5 separate regions of the Homo sapiens genome follow, and all the other regions are linked to region 3. Evidence: promoter capture Hi-C in 16 types of primary human blood cells and fetal thymus (Javierre and others, 2016). All regions are on one chromosome and are shown on one strand. The core of a region is centred on a gene start or on the middle of the fragment in contact, and the rest is flanking DNA. Distances in the headings are between cores, read along the strand shown. Region 1 overlaps SND1 (staphylococcal nuclease and tudor domain containing 1). Region 2 overlaps SND1 (staphylococcal nuclease and tudor domain containing 1). Region 3 holds the start of LEP (leptin). Region 4 has its middle 9.5 kb from the start of PAX4. Region 5 overlaps SND1 (staphylococcal nuclease and tudor domain containing 1).

Region 1 (2,700 bases), core at 198-2,697, 550 kb before region 3:
CTGGAAAGAGGCGGAGAAATGGAGGTGGTAGTTGTTATTTATGACTTCCCTCTGCCTAGGTGGGTTCCTGGAGCCTGGACTTCCCATTTGAAGGAGTGGGTTGATATATATACAGCATTTAGAGCAGTGGCTGGCACATGGTATGTGCTATAAAAGCATTGGCAAATGTTATTCACAAAGTAAGCTATAACTCTGAACAGACAGTGATAGGGAAAAAGTCCTGCTGCCAGTGTCTGGAAAACTCTGAGGCCTGTTTTTAGTGTCTGTGTTAGTTAAACCAACTGCTGGACCCTCCTTTTTTTATGAGCCCCCTAAGTGTGCGATCTGCATTGTGTGCATTTCATTTTTATATTCTCAAGGTCCAGCGCAGGGCCAGGACCATGGTAGGTACTCAGACATTTACTGAAGGTATGAAGTTGCTTGAATGCTGATTGGCATCTGAAACTAGGCAGTTCTCATGTGACATATTTGTTTTGTCTTTCAGCCCTGGGCATTTCCAGCTCGAGAGTTCCTTCGAAAGAAGCTGATTGGGAAGGAAGTCTGTTTCACGATAGAAAACAAGACTCCCCAGGGGCGAGAGTATGGCATGATCTACCTTGGAAAAGGTGAGCTGCAGGGAGAGGACTCATTTCTCTCAAGTCTAAAGTTCTGTTAAAGATCAGTTTTCTTGTGGTGGAAGGCCAGTGTGGGTTCTGGTGGAGGAAGCTCTAGGACAGTTGGCTGAAGGCATAAATGCAAATGCTTTGGGCCCTGAGCACAGGGAATATATGTGTACAGAGGCATGCCCCCGGTGTTCCTGTTCCTTGTGTACCCCTTTTCCTGCTTTGGTTTAGGTGCATGTAGTATAGAGTTGCATTCTTCCTCATGTTTAGGCCATTCACTCATGGAACTCAATGGCTCTGTGCTTCTAGGTCAGAATGCTAATTGAATTTCTATAGATTTCCTTTTGTATCTTCTATTTCTTTTATCTATCTTGTGGCTTTTCTTCTCTTGGGAACTCTTTTGGAAAGGAAGATTTGTTGAGGGCCTGTGGTTTTTTGCAGCCTACATGTTTTTAATGGAATGGAAGGAGCACAGATGTCGGGGTTGCATAGATGTAGGTTAGAATTCTGATTTCCTACCATGTGCCCTTACTTAACCCTTAACCTCTGTAAGCCCTAGTTTCTTCATTTGTAAGTTATTGAGAGAGTTGAAAGAGATAGTATAGGCCAGGCACCGTGGCTCACACCTGTAATCCCAGCACTTTGGGAGTGTGAGGCAGGAGGATCTCTTAAGCACAAGAGTTCGAGACCAGCCTGGGGCAACATGGTAAAACCCCGTTTCTATGGAAAAATTAGCCAGGCGTGGTGGCGCACGCCTGTAGTCGTAGCTACTCGGGAGGCTGAGGTGGGAGAATCACCTGAGTCTGGGAGGTCAAGTCTGTGGTGAGCCATGATCATGCCACTGCACTCTAGCCTGAGTGACTGAGTGAGATCCTGGTCAAAAAACAAAAAAATAGTATATGTAAAGCACCTCACTCTGGATATTTGTGTGTGTGCATATTGTATAGCTGGGCCAGATGCTTCATGGGATATTAGATGTTCTGGGCTTTTTGGATTAGGTAGTAAGAGAATAAGATTGAGGAATGGAGTTGGAACAGAAATAGGATGTTGAAAGAGGAATTGGTAGGATGTTCTCCAGAAAGCAGCCAGATGAACATGAAGTTATGTTCATTGAACTATTTGTGGAGCAGAATTTTTTTTAAGTTTCCTTTGATTCTTTGATTAAAAACCTTTCAGATAGCTCATGTAACGGAGTTGATTTGGATAATCTATTTGAGTTGGATAGTCAGTGCTAGCAATAAGCAAGCAGGGTAGAATGACAGTGCTAACAGTATTCTGCTAAGACTCTGTTTTTAATGATAGAGGTCTCAGAAAAATGAGTTGAGAATGACCTTTGAGGCATCTTGTTCGATTTCCTACCTAGTAGAGAAATACCTCTTTTTAGTCTCCCAGAAAACGGCTACCTGCTTCTTATTTGAATGAGAAATTATAGAAACCTAAGGCCTCTTTTCAAAAAGGGAAATAAGTTTGCTTTTTACCCGTAATTCTTATAATATAGTAAGAAACAAAACGCTTAAAGATAATTATTGAGTGGTTACTGGTTAGAAAGAATGTAAGAGGAAAAGAAGTGTACTATCTTCAAAATGCAATTGTTAAGGATTTCATTACCTAAAAAATTTCAATTCCATAATAGCTGATCAGTCTTCTGTTACCCCACAAGAGACCTTACCGGACCACAGATAATTGTGGGCACAGATATTTCTATATGTAGAGCACCCCTAAGAGTTCATTTTAATACCCTTGGTCTTCAGCCAAAATGGCCAAATTGTTTATTTTAAGAGAAGCTGATATTTTAAATTATCTGTAGAGTTGTTTTTTAAAAGTTTACTTTTTAAACTGACTCACATTACAAACTGGATATAATTTAATTTAGTATGTTAACACATTAGTGTTTAGAATAAGAACTGGCACATAGGTGATCAATAAATATGTACTTAAAGAATGGTTGGAATTGCTTATAATCTTTCCATTTTAAAGATAAAGAAATAGTTTAATGTTTAATATTTTCACTAAGGTATTTTAACTAACTCTTAATGCCAATTCTATTATAATGAAAGAAAACAGTGGCTTAGATAATTAGCATTTGTGTTTATTTTAT
Region 2 (2,756 bases), core at 121-2,620, 520 kb before region 3:
TTTAGGAGTTCTCTATATATTCTGGATATTAATCCTTTGTTGGGTATATGATTGGCAAATATTTTCTCCTATTTTGTCAGTTGCCTTTTACTTTGTTACACAAAATTTTCATGAAATCTAATTTGTATTTGTACTATTGTTGCCTGTTCCTTTGGTGTCATATTTGAGAAATCATTGCCAAATCCAATGTTGCAAAGTTTCTGCCCTGTGTTTTCTGCTAAGAGTTTTGTAGTTTTATAGGTCTTATATTTAAGTAATGAATCCATTTTGAGTTTGTTTTTAGTTTTGGTGTTACATAAGGGTTCAACTTTGTTTTTTTGCATGAGGATATCTAGTTTTCTTAGGACCATTTGTTGAAGACAGTCATTTCCTCATTGAATGGTCTTTGCACCCATCTCAAAAATCATTTGACTGTATATGCAAGGGTTTATTTCTGGACTTCATTCTGTTTCATTGGTTTGTATGTCTGATTTTATGCCAGTACCATGTGGTATTGATTACTGTAGCTTTGTAGTAAGCTTTGAAATCAGGAAGTGTGAGTTTTCCTGCTTTGTCCTTTTTCTGGATTGTTTTGGCTATTCAGGGTCTCTTGAGATTCCATATGAATTTTAGGATGAGCTGTTCTGTTTCCATAAAAATCATCACTGGGATTTTGATAAGGGTTGCATTACATCTGTAAATCGCTTTTGGGTAGTATTGACATCTTGACAGTATTGTCTTCCAGTCCATGATCATGGGACGTGTTTCCGTTTATTTATGTCTCTAATTTCTTTCAACAGTGTTTTGTAGTTTTCTTTGTACAAGTTTTTCACTTCCTTGGTTGAGTTAATTCCTAAGTATTTTGTTCTTTTTTGATGATACTGGAAAAGGAACTATTTTCTTAGGTTTTTTTTTTTTTGGATTGTTTATTATTTATAGAAATGCAGCTGATTCTGTGTGTTGGCTTTATATCCTGCTACTTCATGAATTCATTTATTCTAACAGTTTTTGTGGAATTATTAGAGTTTTTTACCTATACGTCATCTGGGAACAGTGATAATTTTATTTCTTTCCTTCCAATTTAGATGCCTTTTGTTTCTTTTTCTTGCTGAACTTCTTTGGCTAAGACTGTCAGTACTATGTTAAATGGAAGTGGCTCTCTGACATGGTTTTTAAGCAAGGATGCAGCTGAATATTTTTGGCATTATCTGGATTTCTCCAGTATATTCCTATGTGATAATATGGAGAGAATCAAAAAATACCTGCCACTTCCTTGCCTTTTGCCATTTGACTTTCAGTTGGAAAGGAAGTTCTGGAGATTGTCTCACTAGAAAGGTGGGCTCTGCTGAACCAAAAAGGGATCAAGACTTGGTTTGCAGCTTATACTAGTAAACCAGTGTGCTGATAAGAAAAAGAAAGTGATTGAGTTAGAAGAGATTGAAAGAATATTAACCTGGCTTTAAAAATTAAATTATTAGAGACTTCATTTTTTAGGTCACTCTTTAGATTTACAGAAAAATTAAGCAGGTAGCACAGAGTTCTTATATTACTCATCCACCCTCAGCCCAGTTTCCTCTGTCATTAATATTTTACGGGAGTATTGTATTTTTGTTATAGTTAGTATATCAATATAGATACATTTTTATTAACTAAAGTTTATATTTTATTCAGGTATTCATTTATTTATACTTTATTTCTGTTCCAGGATACCACATTGCATTTAGTTGTCATATCTCCTTAGGTTCCTTTTGGATATGCCAGTGTCTCAGACTTTTTTTTTGTTTTGGATGACTTTGACAATCTTGAAGTACTGGTCAGGTAGTGTGTAGGACGTCCCTCTGTTGAAAGTTGTCTGATGCCTGATTTCCATGTAAGTACATCTTAAGAGTATCTGGTTTGGTTGTGCTTAGGTGCCTGGAAGTGCCTGCATCAGGATATTGTTGTGGTTTGTTTTTGTTGAGGACAAGGGTGGCAGCTGTACTCTTCTAGGGGACTGGGGAGAAGAGACATAGCATACAACCTTAGGGAGTGGGAAAAACAGCCAGATGTCATGATTTCAGAGAGGAGAATAGGTATCTGTGTGTCATTCTCAGTGACGTCATCAAACCACAGTCTCTGGTCATGCTTGTAGAAGGCCCTTTTGGGCTGAGAATCCTTTTGTTTCTATCTGGTACTGGAAATTTTGGCAGCATTGGGGCTATTGGTGGTTATGTCCACAGCTCAGGAAGCTGTTGAACAAAAAGGAAGCTTTTTTGTTTGTTTTATGTGTGCTTCAGGGTTTTCAGAATCTGAATAACAGCAGCCCGTTGCACCCAGTGAGCGCTGTGGATGGGCTGTACAGATGAGAGAGTGTGACAGAGGCTGAAGATAGGCATGGATGTTCCCCTAACGGAACTCTGGTTTTCTTGACTCATGGCAGCCCTTAGCCTACACCTTATTATCATTAAACCATTTTTTCCTTTTATGATTGGGCTTCAAGAAATGGGGAGGGAATTGGATTTAGTGCATGTATTTGAGTCCAGCTAATGACTTTTTCCATGTAGACTTTTGCTCCTATGCCTTAGGTTATCTCTTGGTGTGTGGGGTGTGAGCGTGCATGGGGTTGGCTTGATTAGAGATCTGTAGCTAGCAGAGAAAGTGGGCAGTGTGGGCATACTTCAGTTATCCTGATGAAAAGCACCAGAAGAAATATCACTGTTAAAATGTGGTCCGTAATGGTGCTGATGAGCTGGCTTCAGACAGTAATCCACTCTGCATCTCACTTACTGCACAGTACG
Region 3 (2,700 bases), core at 98-2,597:
TTTTGTTTTGTTTTTTTTATTGAGACAGAGTTTCACTCTTGTTGCCCAGGCTGTAGTGCAATGGTCTGATCTTGGCTCACTGCAACCTCCACTTCCCAGGTTCAAGCCATTCTCCTGCCTCAGCCTCTCAAGTAGCTGGGATTACAGACACTCACCACCACACCTGGCTAATTTTGTATTTTTAGTAGAGATGAGGTTTCACCATGTTGGCCAGGCTGGTCTCGAAATCCTGACCTCAGGTGATCCACCCACCTTGGCCTCCCAAAGTGCTGGGATTACAGGCTTGAGCTACCACGCCTGGCTGGGTTGGTTCTCAATGGAGTGGTTTGTTTTTGGAGCTGCTCTGCGCAGTGGGGACCAGAATAGGCCTGGGTTCCTAGCCCATTGCTATTCCTTACCAGCTGTGGATTCTAAGGAAAGTCATTTAACCTCGCTGGACCTTAGATTCCTCATCCCTGAAGCCCAAGGGTAAAACAAAACAAAACAAAACAAAACAAACCAACCCATCATGTAAAGCGGGGAACTACAAACGATACAGGTGAAACATGCCTACCACACCACTCACAGGCTATGATGACAAAAACGTGGCTACATCTGGGACCACCCCCCAACCCCCACTTTGTACGTAGGAAATACGGAGTTGAGGATGGAGACCCACAGTATGTCCAGAGTGTCCCCAAAGGCCACAGTGCCCGCCTGGAGCCCTCCAGAGAGCGTGCACTCCCTGGGGTGCCAGCCAGAGACAACTTGCCCTGAGGCTTGGAACTCGATTCTCCGCGTGCCAGAGAAGGGGTGGGACTTCAGAACCCCCAACCCCGCAATCTGGGTCGGGGAGCCTGGCGCACTGCGGGCCGCTCCCTCTAACCCTGGGCTTCCCTGGCGTCCAGGGCCGTCGGGGCCGAGTCCCGATTCGCTCCCACCCCGAAGCCGCGCCAGGACCAACGAGGGCGCAGCCGTATGCCCCAGCCCGCTCCGCGGAGCCCCTCACAGCCACCCCCGCCCCGACCGCGCCCCGCGCGGCTCGAAGCACCTTCCCAAGGGGCTGGTCCTTGCGCCATAGTCGCGCCGGAGCCTCTGGAGGGACATCAAGGATTTCTCGCTCCTACCAGCCACCCCCAAATTTTTGGGAGGTACCCAAGGGTGCGCGCGTGGCTCCTGGCGCGCCGAGGCCCTCCCTCGAGGCCCCGCGAGGTGCACACTGCGGGCCCAGGGCTAGCAGCCGCCCGGCACGTCGCTACCCTGAGGGGCGGGGCGGGAGCTGGCGCTAGAAATGCGCCGGGGCCTGCGGGGCAGTTGCGCAAGTTGTGATCGGGCCGCTATAAGAGGGGCGGGCAGGCATGGAGCCCCGTAGGAATCGCAGCGCCAGCGGTTGCAAGGTAAGGCCCCGGCGCGCTCCTTCCTCCTTCTCTGCTGGTCTTTCTTGGCAGGCCACAGGGCCCCACACAACTCTGGATCCCGGGGAAACTGAGTCAGGAGGGATGCAGGGCGGATGGCTTAGTTCTGGACTATGATAGCTTTGTACCGAGTTCTAGCCAGATAGAAGGTTACCGGGAGCTGGGGAGCGTTGGATTTGCTGCTGGGCTGTGCCGGTGCCCAGAAGGCAGGACCTTGCAGAACCAGCCAGGTCCCTGGGAGACTGTCAGACCCACCAACCTGGTGGCATTCGCAGAGCTGAGATGCATTGGAAATTGCCTTGGGCACATCCCCAAAGATCAGGATGTCCCACCCCAGTCTGAAGGAGATAAAGTTGGGGGTAGGAGAGACGCAGATGCAAGTGATCAGTCTCAGTCCCAGACATTGCCTTGCTCTGCGGGTAGGAATTCAGGATTCATTTTCCAGGGAAGTTCCTGACCTCTGAATGAGAGGGGCTGTGTAAGGCCAATGCCTGGGAGGAAGGCAAGGATGAGTAGAGGTGGGGGGAAACAAGTGTCAGGAAGACTCAAAATCTTCCAGAGAAATTGTGCAGGGTCTTACCAGATCTGTCCTCAAAGCCATGCAAATTGCCTTCTTTGCAATGCATACAATGAGGTGTCTCTGGGGGTCAGAACTGGTTATTAGGGAACTTCTAGCCAGGACTGCTAAATACGCGCTGTTGGCCCACCAGGCTCACCTATAGCCTTCCTTCAGTCTGGGCTTGGTTTGGATTTCACTGTGGGTGCCATCGCCTTTACACTCCTGTTTCTATAGTTTAAAGATAGTGGTGCTTTGGGAAAGTGACTCCTTAAATACAGTTAGGTCCAAGTGAGACAAGTGGCCTGGCTGTCATTTCAGAATAGCAGCTTCCAAGAGGTGATTAATTTCTGTTGGAAGGGTGATCTTTGGGGAGGTGGGTGAAGAGCAGAGACTTGGTGGTACCGTTCCAGGAGCACAGGCTCTCTTCCTTTGCAGTGCAGAATGACCTCTGGCAGCCGGAGTTGTGTTTGTTCTGTAGGATTCTGAGGTGGGCCATGGGCAGCTGGAACTGGGGAATTTTGCCAATCTCTTTCATATTAGGATTGTCTGCAGAACCAGATATGGAGGCTTCTAGCAACGTGAGTGCTCCTGTTCTAATGCCCTTAGAAACAAGAAGGCCACACTGATCATTTCTCTCACTTAGGCAGGGAGACAAGGCAAGAGAGAAACAGTGGATGCTTTTAGGTTCTTTCCCTTCCCAAGCAGTTGTGGACATTGGGCTGAGGGGAACATTTCCACATTGGCTAA
Region 4 (2,700 bases), core at 188-2,687, 610 kb before region 3:
CCACTGCACTCCAGCCTGGGCAACAGGATGAGACTCTGTCTCAAAAAAAAAAAAAAAAAAAAAAAAAAAAAATTGGATGTATAATATTAATTTAGAGAGAAATGTTGTCTTCACAATATCAAGTCTTCCTGTCCAAGGCAATATGTATTTTTTAATAGACTTTACTTTTTAGAGCAGTTTTAGGTTCACAACAAAATTAAACACAAGGTGCAGAGATTTCCCATATACCTTTGTCCCACACATGCATAGCTCCCCCTGTTATCGATATCCCCAACCAGGGTAGAGTGGTACATTTGTTATAACTGATGAACCTAAGCTGTGCAATTTTTGTAGATTTCTTTATCAAATTGAGGAAGTTCTCCTCCATTCCTGGTTTGCTGAGCATTTTTATCGTGAGTGGGTATTGGATTTTGTTAAATGCTTTTTTTAAGTCAGCTGATATGATTACATGATTTTTTTCTTCTTTAGCTTGTTGATGTGGTGAATTACACTGAATGGTTTTTAATGTGGAACTAGCTTTGCAAACCTGAAATAAATCCCACTTGGTCATGGTGTATAATTCTTTTTATACAGTGTTGGATTTGATACGCTAATATTTTGTTGAGAATTTTTGCATCTAGGTTCATGAGCAATGTTGGTCTATGTTTTCCTTTCTTGCAATGTCTTTATCTCTTGGTATAAGGGTGACATTGGCCTCATAAAACAAGTTAGGAAGTGTTTCCTCAGCTAGCCAGCTTTGAGGGTGAGGATTTATCAAGCAGACGTAACTCAGGCTGAGAGACACATGAAGTTCATCTCCTATAACAGCATCTAGGACAGTATGGCTCAGTAATTAACAGTGGGAATTGTAGAGGCATCAAACCTCAGTTCCTATCCCAGGCCTGTCATGCCATCTGCATGATCTTGGATCAGTTAACTGTTAATTCAACAAATAATTATTGAACATGTGCCAGGCACTGGGATAACTGCAGTGAATAAAAAGGGCAGAATTCTCTGCCCTCTTGGAGCCTGCATCCTTTTTTAAGCTTACATTTTAAAACCTTCTGTGCTTCATTTTTCTGCATGTATAAAATAAAAATATCAATAGTAGCTACATCATAGGATTGTTGTGACTATTATATAAATTAACAAATGTAGAACATTCTATATAAGTGTTTTATATTATTACTATTAACACTACTATTGTGCACTAACAGTTAATATTATTATCTATTGACTGAGTTCAGTAGTTATAGTCTAGGAGATTCCCAGGCCATCCTCCCTGCTGTAACTCTGTGCTCCCATTATTTCTGTCTCTCTGCTTCTTCAGTTGGCCTTTTTTATCTTTGGGATCACTAGCCTATTATATGAAACTCCTTCTCTGGCCTAGATTTATCTTGCCTAGGAGATAGTTGGGTGGCTATCTTTCTGCTGCTTTTGAAAACTACCAAAACTTTGCCAGGCGTGGTGGCTCATTCCCATAATCCCAGCATTTGAAGAGGCTGTGGCAGAAGGATTGTTTGAGGGCAGGAGTTTGAGACCAGCCTGGACAACATAGTTTTTTGGTAGAGATCCCCATCTCAAAAGAGAGAGAGAGAGAAAGAGAAAGAGAGAAAGGAAAGGAAAGGAAAGGAAAGGAAAGGAAAGGAAGAAAAAGAAAGAAGAAAGAAAGAAAGAGAGAGAGAGAGAGAGAGAAAGAAAGAAAGAAAGAAAGAAAGAAAGAAAGAAAGAAAGAAAGAAAGAAAGAAAGAAAGGAAGAAAAGAAAAGAAGGAAAAAGAAACACAACAAAAAACCCCTGATAATTGTAATACCAGCAGCCTGGCAGACCGGCTGCATTGGCATCACCCTGGACTAATTAGAAATGCCATAAAAGCTTGACCCATCCCCAGATCAGGAAGACAGATTTAAGCATTAGCCTCCTGTCTCCTTGCCAGTCTACTTGCAGTAAAGCTTTCTTAAAAATGGCTGGGTGCAGTGGCTCATGCCTGCAATCCCAGCACTTTAGGAGGCTGAAGCCAGAGGATCACTTGAGCCCAGGAGTACAAGACCAGCCTGGGCAACAACATAGTGGAGGCTGAGGAGGTAGGATTCCTTGGGCCTGGGAAGTCGAGGCTACAGTGAGCAATGCTTGCACCACTGAACTCTAGCCTGGATGACAGAGTGAGATCCTGTCTCTAAAAAAATAAAAAGAAAAGAAAAATACCCAAACTTTTGCATTTTTTAAAGGGAGGGGGATAGGGAGCGTAAGCCACTAATAGTCCAGGTCTTTGCCTGTGCACTTTCTGAAGGTTGTGGAGTCTTGGCCTGGCCTAGGTTAGAGTGGCAGGGGGCGCTGTATTTTCTCTAGCCATCACTGAAAATCAGGCTGTGTCAAGCCCCACATAGGAAAACTCTGCATTCCAGCTTGGGTAACTTTCCACTGCTTAGCAAGACCCAGAGGAAACGGGAAAGAAAATTTACTCCCTAAGGATAAGGATCCTACCTCTCTGCCAGGAATCCAGAGCTCTTCAGCTTTGCTGTGCCCACAAAGGCCCCCAAAGCAACACCTGCTCAGCCCAACAAAAGCATTACACTAACCAGAGAACAAGCTATGTAAAGATAGGTGATTATAAATTAAGTCTTATCACTATTTTCAGCTTGGCATCATTGAATGCAATAACCACACTTGAAAGGAACCATTGTCCCAGGTTTCATTATCAGTCTAGCTGGCATCTCCTCCA
Region 5 (2,700 bases), core at 169-2,668, 560 kb before region 3:
GACCTCAGGTGATCCACCCGCCTTGGCCTCCCAAAGTGTTGGGATTACAGGCGTGAGCCACTGTGCCTGACCATGATGTTTTCTTCTATATCCCTAGAGGAATGTCCATCTTTTTCTATTGTACATACTCTTCCAGTCTTTATAGCAGACCACACTTTGAGCCATTTCTTGTAACAACAATGTTGGCTATATTTATTGTGTCCTTGTGCTGGGCTCTGTGCTAAGTGCTTTTATTTTGTTTAGGTTTCATAACAACTCTTTATTTTATTTTTATTTCAGCAACAGATTGACAAACTGGATCATAACAACTTATATATATTCTTATGTATTTATTTTATAAATGATGAAATGGAGGCTAATGGAGCCAATTAAATAACTTTCAAAGGTCACTGCTGACATTGATTTGATTCTGAAACTAAATTCTTATTGCCATATACTGCAGCTCCTTCTCTGATTATAAAAACGAGCAGTTTGTGTAACTTGAATTGGTCCAGAATTTATTTTTGCCATGCACTTGCTATTTAGACGACCATAAAACTAGTTTTCATCTCACTCGCTTGTCATAATGCTTTATATCAGGGGTTGGCAAACTTACTCTGTAAAGGGCCAGGTAATAAATATTTTAGGCTTTGCCAGCCATATGGTCTCTGTCGCAACTACTCAACTCTGCTGTTCTAGTGCAAAAGCAGCCCTAGACAATACATAAATGAATGAGCTTGACGTGTTCCAATAAAACTTTATTTATGGACACTGAAATTTGACTTTCATACTCTTTTGCATGTTACATAATCTTCTTTTGATGTTTTTCCAACCTTTTAAAAATGTAAAAACCATTTTTAGCTCATGGTCTGTACAAAAACAGGCAGTAGGCTGGATTTGGCTAGTAGGCTGTAGTTCGCCAATCCTGCATTTTATCGTTTTGAAGTTTTCTTCTTTGCATCTACTTTTTGGGTGTTCTTTTGTAATATTGGACTCTAAGTCAGCTTGCCTTGCAGATGGTACGGTTTAATAAATGTTGGTATGATTTGGGACAGCCAGCTCATGGAAGCTTTACTTGCTTAGTGATTTGGTCTCCAACACCTGTTCTACTGGCACATATAAACAGAGATTTTAATTGAGAAAAAGATTTAATCAGTAGGTAACCTCAGATACCATTTTAACAGAAATCAGCTCCCAAATGCTTGTTTGTATGTGTGGCATAGTGGAATATCAGGATTGGGAAACTTCAACCCCAATCCTTGCTCTGCTGTCAATCCTGGTTATTTTAGGCAAAAGTTACTTTACCTCTCTTGCTCTCAGATTTCTCAGCTGTAAAATAAAATAGCCCAGATTAGATGCTGTCTTTATGTGAAGTCTCTCTGTAGATGATTGTTATGGTCCTCCTGAGATTTAAACTCCGTATATGTAAACTGCGGCCCGATTTTTGGCACAGTTGGCTCGGGAGCAGCAACTTGTGCTTGTACCTGTTGGGTCTGCAAGTGTATCCAGAGCCAGTGAGTCAGCACTGCCATGAGCTCCTGGGCTTCCGGTTCATTGGGTTTGAATGTTGGGCCCTCTAATTTAGGTTTGCCTCTTGTTCTTGCCAGGAAAAAAACCAAAAAGCAATACAAAAACACATACGCACACACACACAAAACAAACAAAAAACTGGCTGTGTTGGTGAGTATTCAGAGAAAGGCCTCCCAGACCACACAGCTTATGTTGTTTTGGGATTGCTTGCTTTGTCTAAATGACTTTTTAATTTTCAAGAGATGATTCTTCCTGTGGAGGCAACAGCTCTGACTGCCAGGAAGCTTTTTCCTGATATGCATTTTGAAATATTCCCCAATTGAGTTTCTTTTTAGTTACTCTTGCTTTCATTCAGTTTCTTTAAATGTTTTCATTTCATTAAAGGGTATCCATTAGGACCAAACTTTGCCTCCTCTTTTTACAGTAGCTCCTTCCCCATCCCCTGATGGTATTTTTAGGTGTAGAAAACACCTTGTCCAGAGGGGAGTCCCTGGCCTGCTTCTTTGCCACTCTGACGTAGAGTCCCTGCATGTGCAGCCTTTGGGTTGTGACAGTTGAAGAATGGCATCATGGACCCTTCAGCTCAATGACTTTCCTGGTTCTCCTTTCTGTGTGACACACAGGATGCTCGCTATATTGTTTCTGAGAAAAAGCTTGTATTGCTTCTGGCCATTTTCATCCTTTTTAGAGCTTTGTAGATTTCACTGAAGTTCTGTCTTTTTCCTGTGGCTTCCTACCTAGTTATTTCTAGAGGATTTGAAGGTTTATACTTATAGCCGCTTCTGGGGTGAGTCACCATGCCTGACTTTTGCTTCTCAGGCAGCTGCCATTTAAAAAAATTTTTTTGTTAATGTTTTTCAGCTAGCATCTAATCTTCCTGCAAGAATATGGAAGGCTCTATAGTAAAATATACATTTTATGTCCCCATGTTTTTGTACTTCTGTGTTGGACCTTAAAATTTTTTTTTTAGATATAATTAACATACCATAAAGTTGACACTTTTAAAGTATATAATTCAGTGGCTTTTTACTACAATCATGTAACAATCACTACTAATTTGGAATATTTTCATCACCTCCAAAGAAATCTGTATCCATTAGTATATTCCCCACTCTCCCCTTCTGTCAGTCCCTGGGAACCACTAGTCTATGTTCTGTCTATGGATTTCCCTTTTCTGCACATTTCATATAA

What was found. The method cuts DNA at HindIII sites, captures the fragments that hold promoters and counts their contacts. A CHiCAGO score of 5 or more calls a contact.
Region 1: a contact is called between a fragment that was not itself captured here and the fragment with the promoter of LEP in region 3, in 13 of 17 cell types (naive CD8 T cells, total B cells, naive B cells and 10 more). The highest score is 10.9, in naive CD8 T cells.
Region 2: a contact is called between a fragment that was not itself captured here and the fragment with the promoter of LEP in region 3, in 16 of 17 cell types (neutrophils, naive CD8 T cells, naive B cells and 13 more). The highest score is 14.4, in neutrophils.
Region 4: a fragment that was not itself captured here is called in contact with the fragment with the promoter of LEP in region 3 in 3 of 17 cell types (endothelial precursors, erythroblasts and M1 macrophages); the score reaches 7.1 in endothelial precursors.
Region 5: a fragment that was not itself captured here is called in contact with the fragment with the promoter of LEP in region 3 in 12 of 17 cell types (naive B cells, naive CD4 T cells, M0 macrophages and 9 more); the score reaches 10.4 in naive B cells.

The regions. Positions count from the first base shown.
Region 1 is chr7:127,694,344-127,697,043 of GRCh38, forward strand. SND1 (staphylococcal nuclease and tudor domain containing 1) reads left to right here. Exons shown (of 24, transcript NM_014390.4): 3 at 485-605. Among named protein-coding and RNA genes, the nearest start is that of SND1, 44 kb to the left of the region's middle. The HindIII fragment of the contact is 4,465 bases long and covers 1-2,700 here.
Region 2 is chr7:127,715,608-127,718,363 of GRCh38, forward strand. The region is part of intron 9 of SND1 (staphylococcal nuclease and tudor domain containing 1); the gene reads left to right. Among named protein-coding and RNA genes, the nearest start is that of SND1, 65 kb to the left of the region's middle. The HindIII fragment of the contact is 1,708 bases long and covers 517-2,224 here.
Region 3 is chr7:128,239,931-128,242,630 of GRCh38, forward strand. LEP (leptin) reads left to right here and starts at 1,348. Exons shown (of 3, transcript NM_000230.3): 1 at 1,348-1,376. RefSeq lists promoters at 1-1,376, 1,130-1,376 and a cis regulatory region at 1,294-1,302. The HindIII fragment of the contact is 7,258 bases long and covers 1-2,700 here.
Region 4 is chr7:127,626,315-127,629,014 of GRCh38, forward strand. No RefSeq gene overlaps it. Among named protein-coding and RNA genes, the nearest start is that of PAX4, 9.5 kb to the left of the region's middle. The HindIII fragment of the contact is 828 bases long and covers 1,024-1,851 here.
Region 5 is chr7:127,676,970-127,679,669 of GRCh38, forward strand. The region is part of intron 1 of SND1 (staphylococcal nuclease and tudor domain containing 1); the gene reads left to right. Among named protein-coding and RNA genes, the nearest start is that of SND1, 26 kb to the left of the region's middle. RefSeq lists an enhancer at 2,192-2,281. The HindIII fragment of the contact is 745 bases long and covers 1,047-1,791 here.